Linked DNA regions of Homo sapiens: all the other regions are linked to region 2. Evidence: promoter capture Hi-C in 16 types of primary human blood cells and fetal thymus (Javierre and others, 2016). All regions are on one chromosome and are shown on one strand. Each heading gives the region's core, a stretch centred on a gene start or on the middle of the fragment in contact. The rest is flanking DNA. Distances are from core to core; before and after follow the strand shown.

Region 1 (7,574 bases), core at 1,931-4,430, 1.9 Mb after region 2:
GTCCTGTACTCCTGCTGCAAGGAAAGCTACAAAGCAGCACTCCTGACTTCTGACATGGAGAGGCAGAGCTCCTAAATAAAGAGACTTCTCATAGCTATTCAAAAGAAACCACACTGGCCAGAAGCAGCAATGCATGCCTATAGTCCCAGCTACTCGGGCAGCTGAGGCAGGAGGATCGCTAGAGCCCAGGAGTTCAAGTCTAGCCTGGGCAACATAGCAAGATCCCATTTCAAAAAAAAAAAGGAAGAAAGAAAAAAAGAAACAACATAACCACATTGCATTACAAATGTCTGCAACATCATTGTGGTAACTTCTGGCTGCAACAGAGTCTTATGATAAAACTCTGTGCCCCAGCTCTGATCACTGGAACAAGCTGGATAGGTCCATTTTCTTGCCAGGGTGAGACCAAGGAGGTGCCCAGAATGGAAAATTTAAGGAGGCCCTCACTCTCAGGCTCGTGAAAGTGCAGGGTCAGCTCCTGAGAGTGGGGTCTCCTTAAATGTTGTGCCCTGAATGCCTCACTTGCCTTATCCTCCTCCAGGCCCTGCTTCTTGCTGCTCCTAAAGGCCTTTGCTTTCTGGATATTTCTCAGTCCTCCTGCAAACGCAGATGGTAGGCCCACACCTACTAGTGTTCTGGGGATATCCCAACATGCCCATGTCCACTTAGAATCCACTGGAATTTCTGACACATTTGTTTGATGCACTAATTAGTTAATAATGGGCCAGACACAGTGGCTCACACCTGTAATCCCAGCACTTTGGGAGGCTGAGGCGGGAAGATCACTTAAGCCCAGGAGTTGGAGACAAACCTGGACAACATAGTGAGACCCGCATTGCTACCAAAAAGAATTTTTTAATTACCTGGGCATAGTAACTTGTAACCTTGGGAGCTCTGAAACATGGTCCCCACATGAACAGAAAATCTGAGAAAGCATATCTGTGTGGGTGGACAGAGAGAAACAGAGATAAGAGGTAGTAATGTGGGCAAGATGGCACATGCCTGTAGTCCCAGCTATTCAGGAGGCTGAGGTGGGAGGATCACTTGAGCCCAGGAGGTTGAGGCTACAGTGAGCTAAGATTGCACCACTGCACTCCAGCCTGGGTAACAGAGCAAGACCGTGTCTCTAAAAAAGATAAAAACAAAATAAAATAAAAAATTAACAATGTTAACAGAAAACACTTCTTGCACACTTACCTTGTGCCAAGCACGCAGGTGTTTCATCAACACCACAGCTCTAGGCAGTATTCACTACCATTATCTCTGTTTTCCACCTTCTGAGGCACAGACAGGTGAAGGGGCTTGCCAAGATCACACAGCAAGGAACAGAACCAGGATTTGGACCCAAATCTCCCCACTGCCCCTATGAAGCCCCTTCAAGGAAAGCAGCTGCCTGTCTTTGAAAGCCAAGGAAACAGTGGAAATGACAAGTGTTAACCCACTCGTGGCATGTTAGAATGACTGTGGAGCTATTGAATCCTCGGCCCTTAAATCCGCTAATTACAGTTACAATCAATGGCATTAGTGTAAGGGCTCATTCTATTACCAAGACGGTGACGCCGGAGCCCACCAAGCCCACCCACTCCACCAACCACAGGCTCTTGAAATGAGCTGAAATCTGCCTGCTTCTGACCGGTCATCTGGGGCCAGATTCAAGCCTCCAGGCTCAGCCTCTCTTTCCTCTCTGTGGCCTGGCCGGGAGGACAGGTTGTTTTCTTCAGAATCGCCACCCAGACCCAAAAGACAACGGGTTTCCAGAGGCCCCGCACAGCCTTGGCGATGGGAAGCAGATTTTTGCCATTTTCTTCTTTTAGCCAAGGGACATTTAATTAAGGCTCACAAAACCCGCCTAACATATGATCATAATTATATCAGCATATTGGGGCTGGGAAGCTTTAAAGCCCAGTTACAAGTTGGTCAAAGACAGGCATGCAGAGGCCTGGAGAGGGATGGGAGAGAGGGGAAAATGTACTCTCTGGTGACACCAAACCAAAACCAGTAAGGGAACGGTGAGTGGGATTTGCCTGTGGGATAAGGGAAGGGGAAAGGCAAAAGCTGGGCTCTGGGGCGTGTTTTGATATTGGAGAAACTCACACGTTTTACAGGATGCACTTCTGCTCAAAGCAACTGTTTAGGCAGGGAATGGTGGTGAATAAGGCATGAATGAGAGAGCCCAGTAATCGCTGATGATAGCAATGACGGAAAACACAAATCACAGTCCCTTTCATCAGCATGTTTTCATCTTTGGCATTTAACACTAGCCTAAAGCCCAGGAGAGACTCAGAAAGTGTTCGTGACTTGTGCAGGGTTGTATTGGTGCTGGTGAAAATATTGGTGATGGCGGCCAGGAACCATGGCACACACCTGTAATCCCAGCACTTTGGGAGGCCGAGGCGGGGAGCATCGCTTGAGGCCAGGAATTCGAGACCAGCCTGGGCAACATAGAGAGACCCCATCTCTACAAAAAAAAGTTTTTTAATTAGCTGGGGGAGTGTATATTCGGGGCAACTTGAATGTATGCTCCCAGGTTACAAAAATTAAAAAAAAATAAAAATTAGCCATGCATGGTCATCACACATGCCTGTTGCCTGGGTGTTTGAGGTTCTAGTAAGCTATGATCGTGCCACTGCACTCCAGCCTGGGCGACAGAGCAAGAACCTCTACCTTAAAAAAAGATAAAAAAGATAGTTGGGGGGACAACAGTGATGGCAAGCACAGTGGAATGATCGTGACAGGGCTGGGGGTGGTGAATGAAGTCGATCACTGAATGGTGATGTGAATGGTGATGTGAACAGGCTCATAGAGTCGGGTGGTGATGCTGACAGTGCAGGTGGAGATAGTGGCAGCAGAGAGGCAGTCATGGCAGGGGGATGGAAGGGTTGATGATGCTGATAGCGGTGGTGATGAGGGTGTCAGGAAGACGGTAGACATGGTGACATTGACAGTTTGGTGATGGCTCGGTGGTGGTGGTAGTGCCCAGGGTGATGGTTATTGTCATGGTCATAATAAAGGACGGTGGGCTGGTGATGGGCTGGTGGTGACATAATATGAAGAGGACAGTGGTGCATAGCGGCCCATGCTGAATGAGGATGGTGATAATAGGGTGGTGGTGATAGGGATGGTGACAATGGTAGGGGAAGAAAGATGAAGGAGGATGGAGAAGGGAGGGAGGGAAGAAGGATCCTGGAGCATCGGCGTCATCAGGCTATGGACAAGAGCTTAGTTCCATTTCTTACCCTTTGGTCACTAGAAGTCAAAAAGCTCATTGTCTGCCAGGACAGGGACCCTTCCCCTGCCACCACTTCGGCTGAAATGCACAATCCTGCCCTGCAACAACACCCTTCCTGGTGGGAAGATTGGCACAGACCGGGTTTCATGAATGCATACACACCCTCCCTCTCGCTATTGTCTAAACCATCAATTAAGTTCCCCGGGGAGTAAAGACAGCAGTACCGTGTGGTAGTTAAGAATCTGGGCTCTGGAGTCCTCTTCGATTTAAATTCTCAATTGTGCTGTGTGACCTTGGATGAGTTGCTTAACCTCTCTGAGCCTCAGTTCATATGTATAATGAAGCTCATAACAGCACCTGCCACCCAGGATTGTAGTGAGAAGGATGGGAGACGATGCTGCAAAACACGTGGCCCATCAGGAGTCATGGCTCAGTGCCCCATGGGGAGTCAATGATGTTGGTTACCATTGTTATCATCTACCACTGCTTTTGGAAAAGCAGGAGGGAGGCTGGGTGCGGTGGCTCATGCCTGTACTCCCAGCACTTTGGGACACTGAGATGGGTGGATCACCTGAGGTCAGGAGTTCGAGACCAGCCTGACCAATATGGTGAAACCCCATCTCTACTACAAATACAAAAATTAGCCGGGCATGGTGGCATGTGCCTGTAATCCCAGCTACTCTCTACTCAGGAAGCTGAGGTAGGAGAATCACTTGAACTCGGGAGGCAGAAGTTTCAGTGAGCTGAGATCATGCCACTGCACTCCAGCCTGGGCAACAGAGCGAGACTGTCTCAAAAAGAAAGGGAAGGGGAGGGGAGGGGAGGGGAGGGGAGGGAAGGGAAGGGAAGGGACGGGATGGGAAGGGAAGGGAAGGGGATACAATAGAATCTGATCTCCAGGATTCTGGGAGATGAGGGAGTTGGCATCAAAAGTCCCCTTTTCCCAGACTCTGCAAGCTCTTCAGTGCCATCTGTCTGTGCAAACACACTCAGCAGGTCACAAGAGGCAGGCTGCTTGCACAGCAGCCGCTGCAGAAGTTAGGCCGGAACCCCATCACAACGGGCATCAATGAGTCAAGCTGGTTTGCCTCTGGCTGGAAACAGTAGGGACAGGCTCTCCACTAGAGCAGTCTGGTGGTGTAATTTAAGTGCCCCGCTTGCATACATAGTCTCCAAATCTGATCATAGCCCTCTGGAAGTTCTGTGATCTATTGAATCATGTCGTATTCTTCCTGTACTTAAGCTTGCTGGTGTGGTTTCTGTGGTTTGCAACAAAGAATCTTGAGTGATAAAGCTGAGTTCTAGCCTGACTGATAAAGCTGAGTTCTGGCCAGGCATGGTGGCTCATGCCTGTAATCTCAGCATTTGGGAAGTCTAAGGCAGGAGGTATTGCTTGAGGCCAGTAGTTCAAGACCAGGCTGGGCAACATAGCAAGATTCTGTCTCCACAAATAAAAAAAACACAAAAATTGGCCAGGCACGGTGGTGCATGCCAGTAGTCCCAGCGACTTGGGAAGCAGAGGTGGGAAGATCACTTGAGCCTAGGAGAGCAAGGCTGTGGTGAGCTATGATCACACCACTGCGCTCCAGCCTGGGCAACAGAGTGAGATTTTGTCCACCCCAACCAAAAAAAAAAAAAAAGGCTGAGTTCTAGGGCTTCTAGTCTGTCTCCCTTGATCAGAAACTGTCCTTGTTCAAGCTGCAGTTTCATTTAGCCCTAAACCCTCTGCAAGGGGGTGGCACTGTCTGGAGAGCCTTGGTAGGCCAAGCCCCAGAGGACTGGGCAGTAGTTACTGCTTCATTCATTTTCAATCAACCAAAATGTATGGAAAGCCTGTTACGCTTCAAGTACCCCACAGTCCACTGGAAAAGTGTCACTATGGCATTCGTGTATGGTGCATGCTGTGACAGGAGCCACAGAAAGAATAGTGATAATGTGATAATGTCACCTGACACTTATTTAGTTCCTCCCATGTAATTCTAAGTACATTTGACTCTTAAACAATGCAGGTGTTGGGACACAAAATCCCCACACAGTTGAAGTCTTAGTATAACTTTTTTTCCCCAGAAATGGTGTCTCACTCTATCACCGAGGCTGGAGTGCAGTGGCACAATCCCAGCTTACTACAGCCTCCAATTCCTGGGCTCAAGGAATCCTCTAGTCTCAGCCTCCCAAGTAGCTGGAATTACAGGCTGATACCACCAACCCCGGCTAATTCTTTTTACTTTTTGTAGAGACAGGGTCTCACTTAGTTGTCCAGGTCAGTCTCAAACTCCTAGGCTCACGCACTCCTCCTACCTCAGCCTCCCAAAGTGCTGGGATTACAGCTATGAGCCACCACACCCAGCCTCAACTGTACTTTAATTCACTTAATTTCCACTATACTTAATTCCCACTTCATTATGAGATAAACAATATTATTATTCTCATTTTACAGATGAGGAAATTGAGGCAGAGGGAGGTTAAGCTACTTTCCCAAAGTCTCATGGCTTATTTGTGATAGGCCAAGATTGAGGCCAAGCAGTCTAACTGGGTTCAGCTCTTAACCACTCAAGTATACTGTTTCTCTAAGGCTATTTAGTGGCACGTAATAGAGGCACCTAACCTGGTCTTGGGGGACAGAGGAGCAAGGGAAGTTTGCCTGGAAGCACTGTTGTCTACCTTAAGGCCTAAAAGATCAGTAAGAGACAATGAGGTGAAGAGATGGGAAAAGAATGATCTTGGCAGAGGGAACAGGATGTACAAAGGCCTGGAGGTGAGAGAAAGCTACAGCTAGCACCACTCATTTTTCTGAGCTGTTTCAAATATGAAAGTTTATGGAGAGTATAAAAATATAAGCTGGGTATGGTGACATGCACCTGTAGTTCCAACTACTCAGAAGGCTAAGGCTGGGAGATCGCCTGAGCCCAGGAGTTCAAGGTCAGCCTGGGCAACGTAGTGAGACCTCATCTCAAAAAAAAAAAAAAAAGAAAGAAAGAAAGAAAGAAAAAAGAAAAAGAAAAATATAGATCACAAGGGAAGCTGTCTTTTCTTTTTTGCTTACTATGTGTGTATTAGTCAGGATAAGTAATACTAGCTGCTGTAACAAACAAACTTACTATGTGCATATTAGTGAGGATAAGTAATACTAGCTGCTGTAACAAACAAATCACAAAATGTCAAAGATTTACGTGCTAACTGTTGATTTCTCCCTTATGAAGAGTCCCACGTGGAGATTCCCAGCAGCCATCCATGTTGAGCTTCCGATGCTGCTACTCACAAACCAGGCTCCTTCTATCTGTGGATCTGCCATCTTTGAGGGCAAGCATCAGCAAACTGTTCTATAAAGAGCCAGATAATAGAAGTTTTTGCCTTTGTAGGTCACAGGGTCTCTGACACAGTGAGTGTACTCTGCCCTTACGGCACAAATGCACCAACAGGGAATACACAAATGAATGGATGTGGCTGTGTTCCAGTAGAACTTTACTTATGAAATCAGACCACAGGCAGAATCTAGCTCATGCACCATAGTGTGCCAACCCTGTCTTGGGTATTAGAGTCTTCTGCCGAATCCTCACATCCAGCCAGCAGTCAGGGGAAGAGTAGAAGGGGACTCGTGGGGAAGGTTTCAGTAGATCAAGTCTGGAAGTAATGACATTACTCACGCCTGCATTCTGCTGGCCAGAACTTGGTCACATAGCCACATATGACAGCAACGTGGGCTGGAAAATATAGATTATGTACCCAGGAGGAAAAGGAAAGGGACTTTGGTGAATGCACAGGAGTCCCTGCCATGCACACTTTATGTATTAATACATCCTCTCACTCACTAAGAGATAGGAAGGAAGAAGTTATAAGTGGCCCCATTATACAGGTGAGCATATTGAGGCTTGAGGAGGCCTAGAGACTAGCTGGGGTCACAGAGTCAGTGGAAATGTCTGTCTATAATTAACCTCCACAAGCAGAGTCTTGAGGGTGAAGATAAAAAGGCACGTAACTCGGGCTGGGCACAGTGGCTCACCCCTGTAATCCCAGCACTTTGAGAGGCCGAGGCAGGTGGATCACGAGGTCAGGAGTTCAAGACCAGCCTGGCCAATATGGTGAAACCCTGTCTCTACTAAAAATACAAAAATTAGCTGGGCATGGTGGTGCGTGCCTGCAGTCCCAGGTACTTGGGAGGCTGGGGCAGAAGAATCACTTGAACCTGGGAGTCAGAGGCTGCAGTGAGCCGAGATCACACCACTGTACCCCAGCCTGGCTGACAGTGACAAAGCAAGGCTCTGTCTCAAAAAAAAAAAAAAAAATGGCAAGTAACTCAATCTTAGGGGAGGGGAACTCCACAAAGGACCATGAGTTTGGGCTAAAA
Region 2 (6,947 bases), core at 1,708-4,207:
GGTTCAAGCAATCCTCCTGACTCAGCCTCCTGAGTAGCTGAGACCACAGGTGCACGCCAACACACCTGGCTAATATTTTTTTTTTTTTTGCGATTTTGTAGAGACTGGGTTTTCCCATGTTGCCCAGACTCAGTTTCCATCTTTATGATACCTTTTCACTTATATTGCACATGTTCCTAATTCTTGAAGTGAATGAAACCTTTCTCCTATTCTGAATATGTATCAAGGAGGCCCTCCACTGCACATTCACAGCGTTGGGGTACTGCGGAAATCTGCCCCAGCCTCTGCACTAGGCGTGCTCCGAGTCTTCCCTCTTACCATTCTTGGGTAAGGGCCGACGTTCTCGCTTTCGGTTCAGCTGTTCCTGGTGTCCTGAGTGGAGGCTTCCAGGTTCCTCCCGAGACACCGCCCTGGGTTGGGTCTCCACCTGCTCTGGCTGGAAGTCTGCCACCTCCCACGCTGCTCCAAGTGGGGAGTGCTTCTCCCGGTGCACGGGACTGCTGACCTGAGAAATGAAGTCAATACCATAAGAGGGAGTAAAACAGGCCCATATCAGGGCGAAATTCTCCCAGGAAAGACATCAAAGAAGGACAGAGACATGAGAAGGAATGAAAATTCCACTCCATTCCCAGTGGAGTCTCTGAGAGCGCTGGGCTGAGAGTACTGTCCAGCAGTCTGGGTGTAAGGTAACAGAACAGTGTTCTTTTTTCTGAGACAGAGTTTCACTTTTGTTGCCCAGGCTGGAGTGCAATGGCACGATCTTGGCTCACTGCAACCTCCACCTCCCAGGTTCAAGCGATTCTCCTCTCTCAGCCTCCCAAGTAGCTGGGATTACAGGCATGCACCAACACAACCGGCTAATTTTATATTTTTTTAGTAGAGATGGGGTTTCATTATGTTGGTCAGGCTGGTCTCGAATTCCTGACCTCAGGTGATCAACATGCCTCGGCCTCCCAAAGTGCTGGGATTACAGATGTGAGCCACCGCGCCTGGCCAGAATAATATTTAATACTAAACAGAGAAGGAAATCTGTCAGGAGTGAAAGAGCCTCCTTGTTGCTAGAATAGATATTATTTGACTCTATATCTGTTACGTTCGCAAAGAAGTTACCAGGACATGAATATATACAGTAGTGAAATGAAAACTTACAAAATTAATATCCACATCTATCTGTCTATCCCTGACCAATACAGCAACCTGCTGATAGATCTCTACACAATGCAAGTCTGATGCAAGGTGAAACCGCAAATCTTGCAAATGCTGCAGGATTTCACGAGGTTCATGAAAGTGAGGTTGAAGAACAACTAGAAGAGCATGCAAGCCACTGAGAAATGAAGATGTGGCAGTTAGACTGGAGGAGAGTGACAGAAATGAAGGCATGAGAGCACTTCAGAAGACACTGAGTGCAACAGTAAAACGCTTGGAGACGGCTCTGGGATAACGGATGAAGTCTTTTTTTTTTTTTTTTAAAGGGGGAACAGAATAGCCTTTTTTGATCAAAATGCGTAAGTGAACCTCTGTGACGCAAAACCATATTGTTCTCTTATATTGTTTTGTTGCAAACATTATGCCAAAGATGACGATAAATGCTTAGGTGAATAATGTCTGGTTTCCATTGTAAGATAATATTTCAATCAAAGCTTTTATTTTTCTATTTCATGTGAAATTCTGATCCCCTTTTAAGTGGATTCACTTAAAGTGAAAAGACCCCCTTATAGGGTCTTTTATTAGTACCATTTATCTTTCTCTGAAGAGCACGTCTTTCTGCAATACATCCCTGCCCACATGCCTTTCCCATTCCCTTTTTTCTAAGTACAAAAATTTGGAAAATCCTCTCTCACCTGCTGTCTTAGTCTTCCAGTCTCTTTCTCCAAATGCACTACCAGGGCCACCGCTTCCTCTCCACTTTGCGGACACTGCTTCTGTGCCCAAGCCTGAATCTTCTCGGGTAAAATGGTGAGAAACTGCTCAATCACCAGCAGCTCAAGTATTTGCTCCTTGGAACGCATTTCTGGCTTCAGCCACCGGCAGCAAAGTTCCCAGAGTTTACTGAAAGCTTCATGGGGTCCAGTCACATCCTCATAACAGAATTGCCTGAAGCATTTGCGGAAGGTCTCAGAGCTATCCGATCCTTCCAGAATGGGCTCTGATGCCCACTCAGGGTCCTTTTCCACCTTCATTATTAGGCATCCCTCAACCTCCAGGGGCGCGTCGATCTGAGAGTCGAGGGCGACAGCCATGCTGCAGCCCAGGGGTCAACTTCACGTCTAGCTCAAGGTGGGGACCCAAAGAAGACTCCAAGCGCTCCCTGCTTAATGTTCCTGGGAGTGTGATAAGGTACGGAGGTAAAAACGGCCAGGTCGGCAGGAACAGGGTATTCCAGGCTGATTAATCAAATCTATGCCAGGCCCTTGAAAAGGTGAACGTATACTCTAAGATGCAAAAGCCTGGCCTCTTCTCCAAACAAGATGTGACCGCGCAATGTGGTTTTCCAGAGTGCATCCCTCTTAGTGCAAAGTCGGAAACCGGGAGGCTGGACGACTGGGAGAAAAATGAAGCAGGCTGAGGAAAGGCTGGGCGGAGGCGGACAGCCGGGCCGGGAGGGGGTGTGTCCGCTACTCCCGGGTCGGGCGCGGAGAGGCGAGTCCCCGAGTGGGTGGGGCCGGATGTGCAGGCCCCGCCCGGCGCCAGGTTCCGGGCTCGGGTCACCGCAGCACGTCCAGGCCGCCGCGGGTGCCGCTGGGGCCGCCGGATTCCGAGAGCGGCGCCGGGCTCTTTCGGGCCCACGACGGCCCCGACCGTCCTGAGGAAACCGCTGCCGCCGAGGAAAGGCCGCAAAAACTGTTCCGCCCGGAAGGGAGAAGAGCTGCGGGGCGAAGCCAGGGCTCGCAGGGGGCAGCGGCAGGCTGCTCGCGTTCGGCCTCGTCCACTCGGCCCGCGGAGAGCGCGGGGGGCGCTGGGAACCGCAGTCACGCATGCGCCGCCTGCCACCGAGCGCCGCGGGGCCCGCGCGAGGCGTCCTGGCGGGCGAGGGGCTGGGGGAGGGGGGGGGGGCCGTGCGGTGGACTCTCGCGAGAGCGCGCGGCGCGGTGACTCGTCGCTGAGGGACTTTAAGATTGTAGAGGGGCGCGGAGGGTCCTCCCCGGGGCGGAGGGACACAGAGGGATTCTAGGGAACCTGCCGTCGCGAGTCCCGCTTCAGGCGGAGAATCTAGGCGGCGGCGGGGCCTCCCTGAGGCGGAGGAGTCGGCACCGGGGCCTGGCTGCCGGGGAAGGAGAGCACGGGAGCGGGGACTCCTGTGTCTGGCGGAGGGACACGGCGTTCCGGTGGAGGGATCTGTTCCTTGTACCTGGTCCAGGGTTGCGGTCGGGGATGGAGCGGTTACCCCGACCCTGCGGGACCTTCTTCCTCTGGCGGAGGTGCACGGCGCGGCGTGGTGTTTTTCTGGCGGAAGTATCTGTGCGTGGCCCCAGGCCCTTCCCGGCGCGGTCTCATCTGGGGCCACTTGTTGGCCCTCGCGTTGGGGAGGTTCATGTGGTGCATCCTGATGAGAAGGGGGGTCACAGGGGTCTCGGGGCCAGGGTTCAGCCAGCCAGGCCCCAGCTTGCTCTCTTCTGGTGCTGCCCCTGTCCCTGAATTCATAGACCCGGCTTTCCCTCTCTTGAGCACCTACTATGTGCCAGGCTGCGCTTTGCGCATGTAGCAGAGGCAACAGTGTCACCTGGGAAGCTGGTTTCCCCCAAAGGAACTCTTGTCTGTCCGTTGTTGCAGAGCCAGCGCATGAGACCAAGTGTGAGTATCAGGCAGTGCAGCCTTCATTCAGTGGCCATGGAATTGGAGAAGTGGGAGGGTAGCTCGCAAATCAAGCTCTCAGCTCTTGGAAACTGAGAAGTTACAGGTAATAGGGAGTGTTGACGAAAAGTAAAACCGTGCAAAATATTTGAAGAGATTTATTGTGAGCCAAATACGAGTAACCACAGCCTGTGATACAGCCCTCTCGAGGCCCTGAGAACATGTGCCCAAGGTGGTCGGGGTGCAGCTTGGTTTTATGTTTTAGGTTGGCATGAGACATCAGTCAAATACATTAAATACATTGGTTTGGTCCAGGAAGGCGGGACAACGCAAAGGGGTGGGGGTGGGGGCTTCCAGGCTATAGGTAAATTTAAATATTTTCTAGTTGACAATTGGTTGAGTTTGTCTGAAGACCTGGGATTGATAGAAAGGAAGTGTTCAGGTTAAGATAAAAGATAGTGGAGACTAAGGTTCTTTTGAAGTCTTATGGTGGCTGCTCTTAGAGATAATAGATGACAAATGTTTCCTATTCAGATCTTCAAAAGGTGTTAGACTTTTAGTTAATCCGTTTAGGATTGGGAGGGCCTGGAAGAAAAACATCTAGCTATGTTAATAGATGTTCTTTACAGATGCACATTTTACCCCACAAAGGATAGCTTTTGGGGGAAAATGCTGTCCTTTATGGAAGAAATTGCAAAATAGGGCAAGGAAACATGTTTTGGGGTAAAATATTTTGACTTTCTTTTTGTCACGTAATGTTATGCCAGAGTCAGAATGGAAAGTAAGTCATCATATATAGGATTAAATAAAACCCATCTGATGAGAATTTATGGTTTGTAGGTCATGACTCCCCAGATCCCTTAGATAGGAATTTGGGCAGGATTAAAAAAATCAAGAGTTTAGGCTGGTCGTGGTGGCTCACGCCTATAATCCCAGCATTTTGGGAGGCCAAGGCAGGTGGATCGCTTGAGGTCAGAAGTTTAAGACCAGCCTGGCCAACATGGCGAAACCCCGTCTCTACTAAAAATACAAAAATTAGCTGGGCATGGTGGCACACGCCTGTGATTCTAGCTGATTGGGAGGCTGAGGCATGAGACTCAACTTGAACCCGGGAGGCGGAGGTTGCAATGAGCTGAGATTGTGCCACTGCACTCCAGCTTGGTTGACAAAGTGAGACTCTGTGTCAAAAACAAAACAAAACAGAAAAAAAAAACAAAAGAATCAGAGCTTAGTCGTCAGGTGTCCTTAATGAAGGGGCTGGGCATTAAGAGCAAGGCGAGGAGGCAGAAGGAAAGCTTGAGCCCAGGAATTGGAGACCAGCTTGGGCAACATGGTAAGACCCTGTCTCTAAAAAAAATAAAAATTAAGAACAAGAGGAGGAATATTCATGTTTTTTCTTGGGAAGGGAGGTAGATTTTCCTGGAATCAAGGAGCTGCCCCTTTTTTTGTCCTTTTTTTGGTCTCTTCGGGTCATCACGGTGATTGTCAACTGTCATGGCAACCAGTGGGAATGTCATTTAGTACTGAAGTTGGATTAGAATGAAGCTAGAGGTTCTTCAGAGGTCGAGTAAGCTAAGAAGGAACCTATGACCACAGACAACCTGTTTTCTAAAAATAAGCAGAGTTAAATCTGAGTAGGAATTTAGCTATGTCATGGAGGCATTGCATTGGGTAACAAAAGCCAGGTAGGCGTCCAGCTAAGTCCCCTAGGCCCTGCAACGGGTAACAGCAGTACTGACTCTATGTTAGAGAAAAGCTTGCTTGCTTGAGTATAATTATTGTTTTGCCTGAGTTTGTAAACTATTCACTAAAAACAGCCACAGAAAAAAACAGGACCTTCTTCAACAGATAAAACACACAGACCCGCAGCTTTGGGAACAGGCTGATGGCCCCTGCACAGTCTAGTCACAAGGCATTGACCAAGAAAGTAATGACTAACTGCCCATCTGAGACTGCGCATGATTCACAAGAATGTTTCTTTGTTTTGTTTTTTGAGACAGTCTTGGTCTGTCTCCCAGGCTGGAGTGCAGTGATGTTGGTTCGCTGTAGCCTCTGCCTCCTGAGTAGCTGGGACTACAGGCGTGTGCCACCGCACCTGGCTAATTTTTGTATTTTTAGTAGAGATGATGTTTGACTATGTTGGCCAGGATGGTCTCGAACTCCTGACCTCAAGTGATCCACCTGCCTCGGCCTCCCAAATTGCTGGGGTTACAAGTATGAGCCACCGCTCCTGGCCCACAAGAATGTTTTGATCATTATTTCTCCTAATTTTCCTTAAAATCCCTGGATCTAGAGGCACAACTGAGAAAGGTGGTCTTTGAATGCTAGTGCACTGCCTTTTGCAGGTTGCTGGTTTCTCGAATAAAGCTAACTTTGCTTTCACCAAAGCTTGTCTTTTGAGTTTTTGGCTTTCAGGCGACGAGTGGCCTGGACACCAGTTCGGCTACATGTATGTCAGTGGGCAAAACAAAAATCCTTATTCTGGGAGGTAGATAGCTTATTAGAAAACACAACCTAATCACTTGTTTCCCAAATGTTAAAAATTGAGCCAATTTTAGCCCCAGAAGCTTAGGGTACCATGTACATAACAGGCATTACCTGAGGGTGGGGCAGAGAGAATCAGTGGGGTACCTCGTATATGCCAGGGGTTGTATCAGCATCCTTACACAGCTCATTTTTCTTTTTAAATAATACTTATTGAGGACCTATTTAATGCCAGATATGGTGGTAGGTAGGGAGCAAAAGCAGGATTCCCCTCCCATTATTGAGTTTTCAGTCTGGTGGGAGAGGCAGGAATTAAATAAGTAATCCACAAACTCAAGTACAATTCTAAGGGAGATGGGTGCCACCAAGAAGAGACATGGTGCTGAGAACCTATGTCTGTCAGAGGGATTTGATCTATTTGGGAGGTCTGGAAAGGTTTTTTTGAAGAAGCAGTGCTAGGGGTGAGATCCAAAGGAGAAGAGCTAATTAGGCAAAGCCTAGTCCTCACAAAAATCCTATAAACCAGATATGATTACCTTCATTTTAGAGTTTAGGGCATTGAGACTTGAGCAAGGTGATGTCACTGCCCAAGGTTACATCAGATTAAATGGCAACCCAGGATTCAGATTCAAATAAGAGTAGGGTTCTTTATATTCTCCTTGGGCTATTTG
Region 3 (7,106 bases), core at 954-3,453, 1.9 Mb after region 2:
AGACAGAGGAGCTGAGATCACGCCACTGCACTGCAGCCTGGGTGACAGAGCAAGACTCTGTCTCAAAAAAAAAAAAAGAAAAGAAAAGAAAAAAATCTGTATACAGTGAATTGGCACCTCAGTTCAAAATTTCCCTTCTATCTTATCTTCGTGCCTAAGTGAAACTTCAATTTTAACATACTATTACACAAGACCGTTGTGCAAATAACAAGACTGAATAGTATTAATTACCATTCCATGCATTAAGTTGTGCTGGGCAAATAGCATTCATTATTATATTTAATTATCATAGCAACTCTGAGAGACAAGTTACTTTTGTTATGATCCTCATTTTACAGATGAAGAAACTGAGGGTCAGAGAGGTAAGTGACTTGCCCAAAGGTACACACTAGGAACCAGAAAAACAGGGACTTCAACCCAAGTCACGCTGGTGCCAACATCCCTACTGGCAAGCCATATGAACCTCCCTGCCTTGAGCTTCTTCAGTAACAAGGTCAGGAAACTAAAGTTCCCTGACATCAGCTGTCTGCCTGTTGGTCAGCAGTGGTAGTGACAACACCAGTATTTGTACCCAGGTCCCTGTCACCAAAGCTGGTGACTATACGACCTCCATGTTTGTCAGGCATCCAGTAGGTAGTAGGTACATGATAACATCAGCTCCTCCTTCCATCTGCTGGGAACAACCCAGTTAATCAACCTAATGGCTTTCCTTTCAAGAGTACCAATCTCTTTGGCATATCCAGCAGATATACCCAAGGTTTCTTAAGATTTACACTTCTCTGCACCCCATTCCCATGACCATCCCTTAAGAAGTCCCCTCTGTTTCACCCCCAACTTCCCTTTGAAAGATCTATTCCCGTCCCTCCTCCCAGAAACTGTCCAACACCGCTGTCCTCCTTGGTCAATTGTTCTAGACGTATTATTTATGGCAAACTCATTTGTCCCTAACACAAATGTAAGATGTAATTCCCCAAGAATTCAAATGTAATTTAAAGTTATTTTCCAATATCTAATTTGCCTTTTATTTATTTAGGGCAATATTTCAGCAGGAACTTCCCAGCCAAAGTGCCAGCATTTGTTTACAGTGTCAGGCCCAGCAATGGTGGGTAACCACACACCCCAGACACAGACATTACCGATTAAAAAAGTAATTACAACATTGAACACAGCCTTAAATAAAAGCAAAAATGCAGGAGACAAGAGGGGAAGCAAAAACATAAATGGAAACAATGCCGTTTTCCCCAGACGTTTTGTAATATTTGCAGCCTGCCTGGTACTGGCACCCTGCCCTGGCTGTGCCAGACACAAGCAAAGCATCCAGTGAGGAGGGGTGGGGTGGCTCTGCTCTGAAAAGAGGTGGAAAGAAGTGCCTAATCATCAGAGAACATCTGTCTGCCTGTTTGCCTGTCTGTCTGTCTGTCTTTTGTTTAACATCTTGCTCTGCTGAGCACCCACTTATACTGATCCTCAGGGGATTAATTGCATACTGTGTTATGGCAAATGACCAAAACCCCACACAATCAAACTGACTTAACTAGGAAATGGGTATGTTCTGGTTCATGACAGACCATCTGTAGTTCTAGTTTCAGGCACAGTTGGATCCAGGGGCTCAACATCATGTAGAATCTCTCAGTCTCTATCACTTGGCTCTTCTTTCCACAAAGTTGACTTCATTTTCAATCAGGCATTCTCTACCTGGTGGCTAACATAGAATCCTAGCAGCTTTAAGCTTACATCCCATCAGCTTAGTGTTCCCCCAAAGAAAGGAAGTGCTTCTTTTCCCACCATTCTAGCAAAAATATCAAGTCAGCCTTTCATTGGCCCAACTTGGGTCATGTGCTGATCCGTGAACCAATAATTGTAGCCAGGGAGTTTCAGTCCTTTCATTGGCCAGGCCTGGTTCAGATTCCCACCCCTTGAGAACAAAGGTAGGACCAGTCCCACCCAAACTGAGACTGAGAGCGAGGAAGAGATAATTCACGAAAAGAAAATTGAGGTTCCCATGAGAGCTGAAGGAGCAATAAGACACTGGGTGAGTAAACACGACTAATTTCCACCACAGATTTGAACACTTTCTGTCTGTTTCTAACACCTCTACTCTTCCTACAGTATCTCCAGACCACATTTTTAGACTTGTGAGCACAGTACAGTGACCTCTGCTCCATTCTTGGGAGGATAATAGGACTGTCCTATAGAATGTCAAACTTGCAGATTCTTCCCTCGATTTTATTAAAAGATTCTGTAAACTATAACATAGCACAACTGGGAACAGATGACATTTTGTAGCCACCAAGGGTAGCCTGCTTCAAGTGGCCCAGGACTTCCTTCAAGATGAATATAACAAGAGTTTTTGGGTTTGAATGAGTCAAATAATTGCTGTCTAATTGTCTAACAATTAAGTCACAGGAGAGGCAGGAAGTATAGTTGCTGTAAGCATTTTTGAGTAGTCACACTTTGGACCTGACCCCAAATCAGTGTTCCTGGTTCCTGCTTATACCCCAAGGAGTGACTGTGTATGCGAACTGATAGAATTGATTGTAGAGATGTAACTCTGGGGCCAAATGTGTGTAGCTCTTGGCCACACTTAGCACTGAAGGAGTCGGATCATTCTCTCTCAATGGATATCCAGAAACTGGGTCTCACATAATCACAGAACAAAGCATTCACAAGACTGTGCAAAGCTTTCTTCAACAGCAACCCCTCTGGCAACATGAGGCAACTGCAGCAGTGAACTAATCAGACCCCTGTCCTTAGCCACTTGTAGGTTAACCATGGGCAGACATTCCCCTTGGAACTAAGAACACCTGTATGGTTCACAGATCATTTAAGAGGGCACAGAGAACTCCACAAGAAAAGTGATGAACATTCTACTAATAAGGCAGGTGGTTGCGGAAGCAATTCGTAGGGAAAATGAAAGCACTCTGCCTCATTCAGGCCCCAAGTTTGTGGAGATGTTCTTGCTGCCAACACAAGGAATAAATGAGAGTCTGGATCTAGGTTCCTAAGAACCATTCCTGGTATATAGGAATATAGTAATATTTGGCCTTTTATAATTCCAGTCAACAGCACTTTTTCCCCTTTTAAATTTTTTTTTAATTTTTTGAGACAAGGTCTTGCCCTGTCACCCAGGCTGGAGTACAGTGGTATGATCTCAGCTCACTGCAACCTCCACCTCCTTGGTTCAAGCGGCTTTTCTGCCTCAGTCTCCTGAGTAGCTAGGACTACAGGTACACACCACCTCACTTGGCTATTTTTTTTTTGTATTACTGGAGATGGGGTTTCACTGTGTAGGCTAGGCTAGTCTCGAACTCCTGACCTCAAGTGATCCATCTGCCTTGGCCTCCCAAAGTGCTGGTATTACAGGCATAAGCCACCACATCCAGCCATTTTTTCAGTTTTTATTGTTGTTGTCACTTGCCAGAGACCATGATTGTCTCTTACTCAAACACCACTGTATTTAATGTAATCCCATCTGAAATTCTGTGAGGTAGATAGCATTATCATTCATCCCCACATTATCGATTTTTTTTAATGGAGGTTCAGAAAGGGAAGATGATATGCCCAAAGTCACACCATGGTAGAACCAGGACTAGAACTCAGATTTCCCGCTCCCCAACTAGTGCTTCCATTAACTAAGGGCTTTGTGTTCTCAAACACAATGGGCAAAGGGAGACAGAAAACTTGTGTTTCTTGAACATCTGTGATGGCAGGCACCACGCTGGGCATGTTTACATATATCAGCTCATTTACTCTTCTCCACAGTCCCATGAGGCCTCTGTGGTATCATTTCCCCCATTTTAGTCAAACGGAGGCACAAAGAGAGAGGCGGTACCTTTCCCTGAATCACTGTACAGCAGGAGTCTCTGATGGGATTCAGCATAAAGAGGACATTTTTCCAGGAAGGAAGCTCCCTGCCCAATGGGACTGGTGGAGTCTCATCCTCACTCCTACTCTCCAGAAACATCACTGAACCACTCCACTCTTCCCAGGAAACAAATTCTGGGCACACTCCAGGGTCCCTGAAAAAGACTCCCTCACCTCCAACTTTACCAGCTGGCTCCATCCAAGAGTGAAACTGGCCCAATTTTCCCATAGAATTAGGGGTGTAAACATATACAACTTTGGTATAAAAGGAAAAATTGAAGTTATTTGTTAAATATACTCAGTTCCTAATTGGTATCCATCTCTGTACTAAACATCAAAAAAATAAAGTCCAGACTCTCAAGCATGTAAATGAACAATTTTACAATTGTTCATTTGATTATAAGTCTGTGATATGGTTTGGCTGTGTCCCAACCCAAATCGCATATTGAGTTGTAGCTTCCATAATCCCATGTGTAGTGGGAGGGACCCAGTGGGAGGAAATTGAATGATGAGGGCTGGTTTTCCCATGCTGTTCTCATGGTAGTGAATAAGTCTCACAAGATCTGATGGTTTTATAAAGGGCAGCTAGTTCTCCTGCACACACCCTCATGCCTGCTGCCATGTAAGATGTGCCTTTGCTCCTCCTTCCCCTTCCACCACGATTGTGAGGCTTCCCCAGCCATGTGGAAATGTGAGTTCATTAAACCACTTTTTCTTTATAAATTACCCAGTCTCAGGTATTTCTTCATAGCAGTATGAAAATGAACTAATTCAGGCTGCTGCAAGGAACAGGAAAGGGCCAGAGACAAGGCAAAGCTGGAGCATGCTAGAAGACAGATCTTGTCTTGAAGAGTCTAAAACTATCATTAAAGTCTCCCTGAAAGTTTGCAGATTACACTTAGGGATTTATAAGTGCTCAGCAATAACTTATTAAAATTTTAGTGTGTTCACAAATACTAGCACATTCTGGATCATCTCCCTGACAACCAGAATGGAATCCATGCAATGATTTGATTTGTGATCATTTTGGGGTCTAGTAATAATGTGTGTTTTTTCTCATTAAATTTTGTTTTAATGGGTCTCAAAATTCTGTGACAGATTTTTGGTCAAGTTGCTTCCATTGAAAAGTACTGATTTTAAAAACTAATAATTTAAAACTGCCACACGAAAAAACAAAACAAAACAAAAAATCAAAGTGGTCCACAAAACATTCTCCTTTCCTTCTGAAGGTTTTATGATGCATTGTTATCATTAACCAGTCTTTTACCATTAAACTTAAATGGGCAATTGAAACAAACAGTTCTGAGACTGTTCTTCCACCAATTAAGACCAGGGTAGCAGGTATTAGGGATAATATTCATTTAGCCTTCTGAGCTTTCTGGGCAGACTTGGTGACCTTGCCAGCTTCAGCAGCCTTCTTGTCCACTGATTTGATGACACCCACAGCAACTGTCTGTCTCATATCACGAATAGCAAAGCGACCCAGAGGTGAATAGTCTGAGAAGCTCTCAATACACATGAGCTTTCTAGGAACCATATCAACGATGGCAGCATCACCAGATTTCAAGAATTTAGGGCCGTCTTCCAGATTTTTACCAGAATGGAGATCAATCTTTTCCTTCAGCTTAGCAAACTTGCAGGCAATATGAGCCGTGTGGCAGTCCAGTACAGGGGCATAGTCCACACTTATTTGGCCTGGGTGGTTCAGGATAATCACCTAAGCGGGGAAGCCAGCTGCTTCCATTTGTGGGTTTTCTTTTTGCTGTCACCAGCATCGTTGCTATGACGAATCTCCTTGACGGACATGTTCTTGACATTGAAGCCCACATTGTGCCCAGGAAGAGCTTCACTCAAAGCTTCATGGTGCTTTTCAACACAATTTACTTCAGTTGTAACACTGACAAGAGCAAAGGTGACCTCCATGCTGGGTTTGAGAACACCAGTGTCCATTCGGCCAACAGGAACAGTACCAATACCACCAATTTTGTAGACATCCTGGAAAGGCAGGCGCAAGGGCTTGTCAATTAGACAAGTTGGTGGTAGGATGCAGTCAAGAACCTCAAGCAGTGTGGTTCCACTGGCATTGCCATCCTTACAGGTTGCTTTCCATCCCTTGAACCAAGGCATATTAGCACTTGACTCCAGCATGTTGTCACCATTCCAACCAGAAATTGGCACAAATGCTGCTGTGTCAGAGTTGTAGCCAATTTTTTTTTTTTTTTTTTTTTGAGATGGAGTTTCACTCTTGTGGCCCAGGCTAGAGTGCAATGGTGCAATCTTGACTCACTGCAACCTCCACCTCCTGGGTTGAAGCAATTCTCCCGCCTCAGCTTCCTGAGTACCTGGGATTACAGGTGTATGCCACCACGCCCAGCTAATTTTTGTATTATTAGTAGAGACTGGGTTTCACCATGTTGGCCAGATGGGTCTCGAACTCCTGACCTCAGGTGATCCACCCGCTTCAGCCTCCCAAAGTACTGGGATTACAGGCATGAGCCACTGTGTCCTGCCAAATTTTCTTAATGTAAGTGCTGACTTCCTTAACGATTTCCTTGTATCTCTTCTGGCCATAGGGTGGCTCGGTGGAATCCATTTTGTGAACACCAACAATTAGTTGTTTCACACCTAGTGTGTAAGCCAGCGGGCATGCTCACAGGTCTGCCCATACTTGGAAATACCAGCTTCAAATTCACCAACACCAGCAGCAACAATCAGGACAGCACAGTCAGCCTGAGATGTCCCTGTAATCATGTTTTTGATGAAGTCTCTGTGTCCAGGGGCATCAATGATAGTCACGTAGCACTGGCTGGTCTCAAAATTCCACAGGGAGATATCAATGGTGATACCACATTCATGCTCAGCTTTCAGTCTATCTAAGTCCCAGGCATACTTGAAGGAGCCCTTTCCCATCTCAGCAGCCTCTTTCTCAAATTTTACAATGGTTCTTTTGTCAATGCCACCACATTCGTAGATCAGATGGGCAGTGGAGGTTGACTTGCCTGAATCTACATGTCCAATGATGACAATGTTGATGTGAGTATTTTCCTTTCCCATTTTGGCTTTAGGAGTAGTTTTCATAACACCTGTGTTCTGGTGGCAAAACCATTGCAAAAAAAAAAAAGAAGTAATAATGTTTTAATTGTCCCAGAACAAGGGGGAAAAGGCCGGGCTGGACTTTATACATAAATGATGTGTTTGTGCCAGATAAAGACTGTGAGATATGATGAGGTTTCTCTTCAAAT
Region 4 (6,786 bases), core at 3,468-5,967, 1.9 Mb after region 2:
TAGACAAGCAAGCTGGGAGCTTGCATGGGTGAATGAGGGCAGGAACTAACAACTAGACATTTTCAAGATGGTGGCTCCATCTTCCCTTCTCTGCCAGCCACATGTACTGTAAGAAGCAGACAAGATGGCGCTGATCAACTGGAAAGCCCATTTGCATAATAAGATTAGGGTGAGGTGACTAGCCTTCTGCACGCACTATGTAAACGTCACACTTGATCTAACCAATCTATGAGCCCCATGTAAATCAGACACCGCCTCCTCAAACTGGACTATAAAATTTGCGCATTTGCTGCCAACCAGTCTTTCCCACTGAGACACCCCTTCCTCGATAGAGGAAGCTGTTTCTCTTTCTCTCCTCTTCTACCTATTAAACCTCCGCTCCTAACCTCCTCATGTGTGTCCATGTCCTAAATTTTCCTGGCTGCAACAATGAACCCCAGGGTATATATCCCAGACAACATAGCCACTTCAGAGGTGGACACTGAGGCTCAGACAGAAAGTATCCCGGTCTGCCTTACTTTATGTTGGGGGCTATTTGCTTGTACCCCAGGGGAACCCACTCAACAAAACACCTGGTATTTTGCTCTGAGTCTTCACGCAAGGTCATTTTAGGCTTGCTAGCTCCCGGCTGAAGGTCACATGCTGAAATGAAATTGAAAGCACAGAATAACTAAGTGAGCAGACCCTCCACCTGGAAAATCCAGGTGGCATCAGTGGAAGAGCCAAGACATGGGAGGTTTTCATGTCTATTTTTAAGCAATTGAAGTAAATTAAATGTCTCTTTCATGGCCAAGCTACACGTTGTTTGCAAGTTTGGAGCTTTGTTTGTATGTATATATTTTAAATAAATTTGATAATTAAGTCACGAATGCTCCCAGCACACTTGGATATATTTAAATTACAGGCTTCTGATCAAATGGAGAAAAATCACAAATATGGGCCTAAATGATGCCTTTTTCTGTTCAGTGGCTTTTGCAGCATTCAAATGGGTCTGTCAGCTTAATGGCCAATTCTAAGGCTGCTGGGAATGACAGGAGGTGGAGGGACTGGCAAAGAGACTACAGGAAGTGAAACCCTGTGGTGAAAAATTGTGGTTCTTTTAAGAAAACATTTCATCTGCGCCTGTAATTCATTTCAACAAGCCAGTTTTGAAAACACAAACAAGCTGGTAAAAGGGGTGTTTGTCTCTGCCTGACTGGCAGCACTCCATACCCACCATTAACAGCCAGTTCCTGAACACTGTGGCTTCTGGAATCAGGGGGTCCCAGGTCAAATCTCCTTTGGTCCTTGCTGTGGTGCCTGTCTGGGCAAGTTGGAGATTCTAGTGCCCGCCCTACTGTAGTCTCTGTAGAGTAACTGCCCATCCACTGTCAAAACAAATTCAGATCTAGTAAAGAGTGGCTTTTCCCATCCCTATGTCCTGAATGGTATTGCCTAGGTTTTCTTCTACAGCTTCTATGGTTTTAGGTCTTATGTTTAAGTCTTTAATCCATCTTGAATTAATTTTTGTATAAGGTGTAAGGTAGAGATCCAGTTTCAGCTTTCTGCATATGGCTAGCCAGTTTTCGCAGCACGATTTATTAAATAGGGAATCCTTTCCCCATTGCTTGTTTTTGTCAGGTGTGTCAAAGATCAGATAGTTGTAGATGTGTGGTGTTATTTCTGAGGCCTCTGTTCTGTTCCATTGGTCTATATATCTGTTTTGGTACCAGTACCATGCTGTTTTGGTTACTATAGCCTTGTAGTACAGTTTGAAGTCAGGTAGCATGATGCCTCCAGCTTTGTTCTTTTTGCTTAGGATTGTCTTGGCTATGCAGGCTCTTTTTTGGTTCCACATGAAGTTTAAAGTAGTTTTTTCCAATTCTGTGAAGAAAGTCAGTGGTGGCTTGATGGGGATAGCATTGAATCTATAAATTACTTTGGGCAGTATGGCCATTTTCATGATATTGATTCTTCCTATCCATGAGCATGGAATGTTCTTGCATTTGTTTGTGTCCTCTTTTATTTCCTTGAGCAGTGGTTTGTAGTTCTCCTTGAAGAGGTCCTTCACATCCCTTGTAAGTTGGATTCCTAGGTATTTTATTGAATGGGAGTTCACTCATGATTTGACTCTCGGTTTGTCTGGTATTGGTGTATAGGAATGCTTGTGATTTTTGTACATTCTACTATAAAGACACATGCACACGTATGTTTTTTGCAGCACTGTTCACAATAGCAACCAACCCAAATGCCCATCAATGATAGACTGGATAAAGAAAATGTGGCACATATGCACCATGGAATACTATGCAGCCATAAAAAAGGATGAGTTCATGTCCTTTGCAAGGACATGGATGAAAATGGAAACCATCATTCTCAGCAAAGTAACACAAGAAGAGAAAACCAAACACCACATGTCCTCAATCATAAGTGAGAGTTGAACAATGAGAACACGTAGACACAGGGAGGGGAACATCACACACTAGGGCCTGGCAGGGGGTGGGGTCCTGGGGGAGGGATGGCATTAGGAGAAATACCTAAGGCAAATGACAAGTTGATGGGTGTAGCAAACCAACATGGCACATGTATACGTATGTAACAAACCTGCACGCTGTGCACATGTAAACCAAAACTTAAAGTATAATTTTAAAAAAATAAAAAAGAAAAATCCTATTTGAAGGAAACAAAAAAGAGTGGCTTTATTTGAAAGGATTATTGCAAGGTGCAGGAGGGACTTTTTTTTCTTTTTTTTTTGAGACGGAGTCTCGCTCTGTCATCCAGGCTGGAGTGCGGTGTCTCGGCCCACTGCAAGCTCCGCCTCCCAGGTTCACACCATTCTCCTGCCTCAGCCTCCCGAGTAGCTGGGACTACAGGTGCCCGTGACCACACCCGGGTAATTTTTTGTATTTTTAGTAGAGACGGGGTTTCACTGTGTTAGCCAGGATGGTCTCAATCTCCTGACCTCGTGATCCGCCCGCCTCGGCCTCCCAAAGTGCTGGGATTACAGGTGTGAGCCACCACGCCTGGCCAGGAGGGACTATTATAACAGGGGAAGGGAGACTTGCAAAAGAGAGTACACTGTGGCCACAAGGGTTAGGCCAAAAAGAGCTTTTCTTTCATAGGAAGAAGAAAACAAGGCTAGAAAGAACCTGGAAGTGGGGTGAAAGGGTGACATGATGGGTTAGTAGATCAGAGAATATATCAACCTGAGGCCAGCCTATTCTGAGGAGGGGCTGTCTGCTGGCCCAGGCCCAGGGTGAGCCAAAGTTCAGGGGCCTGGAGGAAGGAAAGAATCTTAACCAAAGTGGTTGACCAGCGTTTTATAAGGATTGATTAGTGGGACAAGCAGTTCAGGTAATCACTTATAAGACAATGAATGAGAATTGGAGGGTCTGTGTCCTGTTTACCTGCTCTCACAGGTAAACAATGGGGGTGGTGTCTTGGAGTCTTATCTAAATTCTCTTGTGGGGGTGGGGGGTGATTCTTTGCAGTAAACTTTTTTCCACAACACAAAAGGGTGAGAGCAATTCCTTTTTACTTTTTTCCGGGGACACAAGACTCAGGGAAAATTCAACATTGTCACTACTCAAGGGTGGAAACTTAGTGTAGCACATAACCATGAGGATTCTAAACCTGTGGCTGCTGAGTTCAAACACCAGCATCCCAGTGAGCCTGGTGGGTTAGGAGATCTTTCTGTGCTTTACTTGCTCCCTCCCTGATATGGTTTGGCTGTGTCCCCACCCAAATCTCATCTTGAATTGTAGCTCCCATAATTCCGTGTTGCGGAAGGGCCCAGTAGGAGATAACTGAATGATAGGGGAGGTTCCCCTCATACTGTTCTCCTGGTAGTGAATATGACTCATGAGATCTGATGGTTTTATAAGCGGTTTCCCTTTTCACTTGGTTCTCATTATCTCGTCTTCCACCATGTAAAACGTGCCTTTCACCTTCCACCATGATTTTGAGGCCTCCCCAGCCATGTGGAACTGTGAATCCATTAAACCTTTTTGTTTGTAAATTGCCCAGTCTCGGGTATGTCTTTATCAGCAGCATGAAAGCGGACTAATACACTCCCTAAAATGGGGATGAGCATGATCATTACAATAGCTACGATCCTCATATTTTTAAAGTATTTTAGCACCGTACCTAGAATCCACTAATCTATGAACTGATCCTGAGCAAGCCTGTTTCCTACTCAGACCCCAAGCTCAGTACGAACATAACTTTCCATGCCTCTGTGCAATGCTGCAAAAGGCGTGCATACTTGGAGTCCACAGGAGTGTGTGCTCAAAACACAAAAGTCCCAGTGACCACGCACCACTCGGCATCAAAGCAAAGGTGGCAGGAGTGTGTCCCCTGGCCACTTGCCTTCTCACTCGAACAGACTGTGGATGCAGCACTTGCTCGTGGGTAATTGTGGATCTGACTTTCCAAAAGTACAAGTATGTGGCCACTTTAATCACTGAGCCTCAGTTTCGCTCTCTGTAAAATAGGGAGAACTAATAATCCTAGCTGCAGAGATTAAATGGTGGATGCAAACAGCCTTGTACGAAGTTGTTATCTGTGCAGAGGAAAAAGCGGTATCACTAGCGTGGAAGGACCCAGAGGATACAGCCAAGCCTTTCTGTCTTCTCCATCCCCCGGCCTTTTAAACAGCAGTGGGGCGGGGCCACGGCATCGATCACTCGGCGCTCCTCCAGGCACTGCGTCGTGATCAGACGAGCGGTGAGCGATCGATACTCCTATGCTAGCCTCTGGCTCCTCAGGGGACACAGCCGAGTGGTCGGACCAAACGCAACGAGTCTTCGCCAGCCCAAAGGCGACTCGACACCGTCCCAGCTGAAGAGAGGTTAGTCTGAGCAACTCGAGAGCGGAGTCAGCTCCAGTTCCTCAGAAGTGGAGAGGCCGGGTTCAGAGGCATAGACCGCGCAGGCGTCATGTGAAGCAGCCAAGCCCGGCCTCGCGCGTGCGCCTTGGAAAACCCCGAGGGTGGCTCGAGTTGCCGCATGCGCTCTGAGAATGCAATTTAGCTCGTCGCCGGCCTGCCCTGCGGGAGGATAAAGGGAAAGGTTCCGCGCGTGCGTATGCTCGTCTCTTGGCAGTGGTTTTGCGCATGCGTGAGGGCAGGCCCTTACGGCGGGCTGCTGTGCGCTTTAGCGGTTCTTGGCGTCGCGTTGGTGTAGGCCTAGTGCGCCTGCGCGGGTTTTATACTCTGCTATATGTGTGTCCGCTGCTTTTAGGCAACCAGCCGCTGCCCCTGGGCCGCAAGGCAGGCTGGAAACGATTCCGCCGTCAGGTCCCAAATATGAGCCGCGAGAAATGCAGCCCCGGGGAAGGCGCTGAGGAGGGAAGGGGGTCTGAGGCCTCGGGGCTCAAGGCCAGTGCGGGGTACGGGGGACCCTCTGGGGCCTGGGTGTGTGACTGCCCTAAGGAAAGGTGCTTGTAGCTCGGTAGGACTTAACGATGGGCATCGGTGCGTTTCCCGGCAACGGTAGGAATCGCCGTGCTCAGGAGGACTCGGGAGCAAGCCCGGGGACAGGAGGTGCGCAGGCGTTGGGGCCACACGGACGACCCAAACACAAGACTGTGTGCCCCTTAGAGAGCCAAAGGGATCCCTGTGCCATGAATTAAAGCTTTCTGGAAAATGTTCCAAACTTTCCTGGGAAGTTTTACGAAGCTCTTGTTTTTGCACAATTTTTGTGGAATACTGCCATAATAACATTGAGGAGATTAGAGAACTGGACCGCCTGTTCCCAGAAAGCTAGGTGTAGGCTGATCTGTCCTGGAAGCCCCTTTTGGGAGGCTTTCTCATGACCAGCATGGTGCTTGCAGAGTGCCCACCCTGAGACCCTCTGCAAATCACAGTGAGGCTCTCGGAGAGGCCATTCCACCCAGCCACCTTAAAGAATACTCAGGGAGGTGCTTTAGAGGAGTTGATGTTTAAAAATAATTTAAGGCTGGGCGCGGTGCCTCACACCTGTAATCCCAGCCCTTTGGGAGGCCGAGACAGGCCGATCACTTCAGGTCAGGAGTTCACAAGACCAGCCTGACCAACATGGCGCAACCCCGTCTCTACTAAAAATAAAAAATTAGCTGAGTGTGGTGGTGCACATCTGTAATCACAGCTGCTTGGGCGGCTGAGGCAGGAGAATTGCTTGAACCTGGGAAGCGGAGGTTGCAGTGAGCCAAGATTGGGCCAGTGCACTCCAGCCTGGGTGACAGAGCGAGACTCCGTCTCAAAAAAAATAATAAAAATAATTTGAGAGAATCCTAGGATGACAGGGCAGTGGCTTCCAAGAGGGATATATCCCATAACCTACCAGGGACCTACTTTGCCAGTTTGCATAGTGAATTCTGCCTGGATGGTGAATTTATAAAGTCCAGGCCTGAGTCTATTCCGGCTGTTTTATACAGGTTATACTTGGCTCCTTTTTGTTTAGTACGACCAACAAGAAGGCTTTTATAAGATTCATTTTAGTCTTATTTATAAATCCAGGAGAAAAACCACTCAGAGGTTAGCACATAACAGCCTATATTCTGACCTTCTTTGCAAGATCATTTCATACACCAGCAGACAAGACTTTATGTAAGGAGCATTTAGGGGCTGAATCAAGTCCACTCAAAAGCTGTTTTATGCAACCCACACTTGATCTCCCCCTGAAAGCTGTTCCAGGTTATGAGGCCAGTTCACAAAGCCAGGACATAAGCCCACTCAAGCTGTTTCTATACCTGACCGCCCCCCTCCCCACAAAAATAAATAAAGCCTTCTCTGGGCCGGGCGTGGCGGCTCACACCTGTAATCTGAGC

The links. The method cuts DNA at HindIII sites, captures the fragments that hold promoters and counts their contacts. A CHiCAGO score of 5 or more calls a contact.
Region 1: a fragment that was not itself captured here is called in contact with the fragment with the promoter of ZKSCAN2 in region 2 in 2 of 17 cell types (endothelial precursors and naive CD8 T cells); the score reaches 7.8 in endothelial precursors.
Region 3: a fragment that was not itself captured here is called in contact with the fragment with the promoter of ZKSCAN2 in region 2 in 1 of 17 cell types (endothelial precursors); the score reaches 7.7 in endothelial precursors.
Region 4: a contact is called between the fragment with the promoter of KDM8 here and the fragment with the promoter of ZKSCAN2 in region 2, in 2 of 17 cell types (endothelial precursors and fetal thymus). The highest score is 10.9, in endothelial precursors.

The regions. Positions count from the first base shown.
Region 1 is chr16:27,165,431-27,173,004 of GRCh38, forward strand. LINC02129 (long intergenic non-protein coding RNA 2129) reads right to left here. Exons shown (of 4, transcript NR_170200.1): 2 at 6,400-6,549. Among named protein-coding and RNA genes, the nearest start is that of LINC02129, 7.4 kb to the right of the region's middle. The HindIII fragment of the contact is 2,579 bases long and covers 1,892-4,470 here.
Region 2 is chr16:25,254,888-25,261,834 of GRCh38, forward strand. It overlaps ZKSCAN2 (zinc finger with KRAB and SCAN domains 2), which reads right to left and starts at 2,958. Exons shown (of 7, transcript NM_001012981.5): 1 at 1,842-2,958; 2 at 319-505. The coding sequence starts at 2,240. ZKSCAN2-DT (ZKSCAN2 divergent transcript) reads left to right here and starts at 2,690. Exons shown (of 1, transcript NR_170220.1): 1 at 2,690-6,179. RefSeq lists enhancers at 2,324-2,884, 3,300-3,619, 3,740-3,819 and silencers at 2,570-2,809, 2,890-3,089. The HindIII fragment of the contact is 3,031 bases long and covers 2,055-5,085 here.
Region 3 is chr16:27,128,262-27,135,367 of GRCh38, forward strand. It overlaps the pseudogene EEF1A1P38. Among named protein-coding and RNA genes, the nearest start is that of LINC02129, 45 kb to the right of the region's middle. The HindIII fragment of the contact is 952 bases long and covers 1,728-2,679 here.
Region 4 is chr16:27,198,809-27,205,594 of GRCh38, forward strand. It overlaps KDM8 (lysine demethylase 8), which reads left to right and starts at 4,718. Exons shown (of 8, transcript NM_024773.3): 1 at 4,718-4,828. RefSeq lists an enhancer at 4,763-4,922. The HindIII fragment of the contact is 9,655 bases long and covers 1-5,610 here.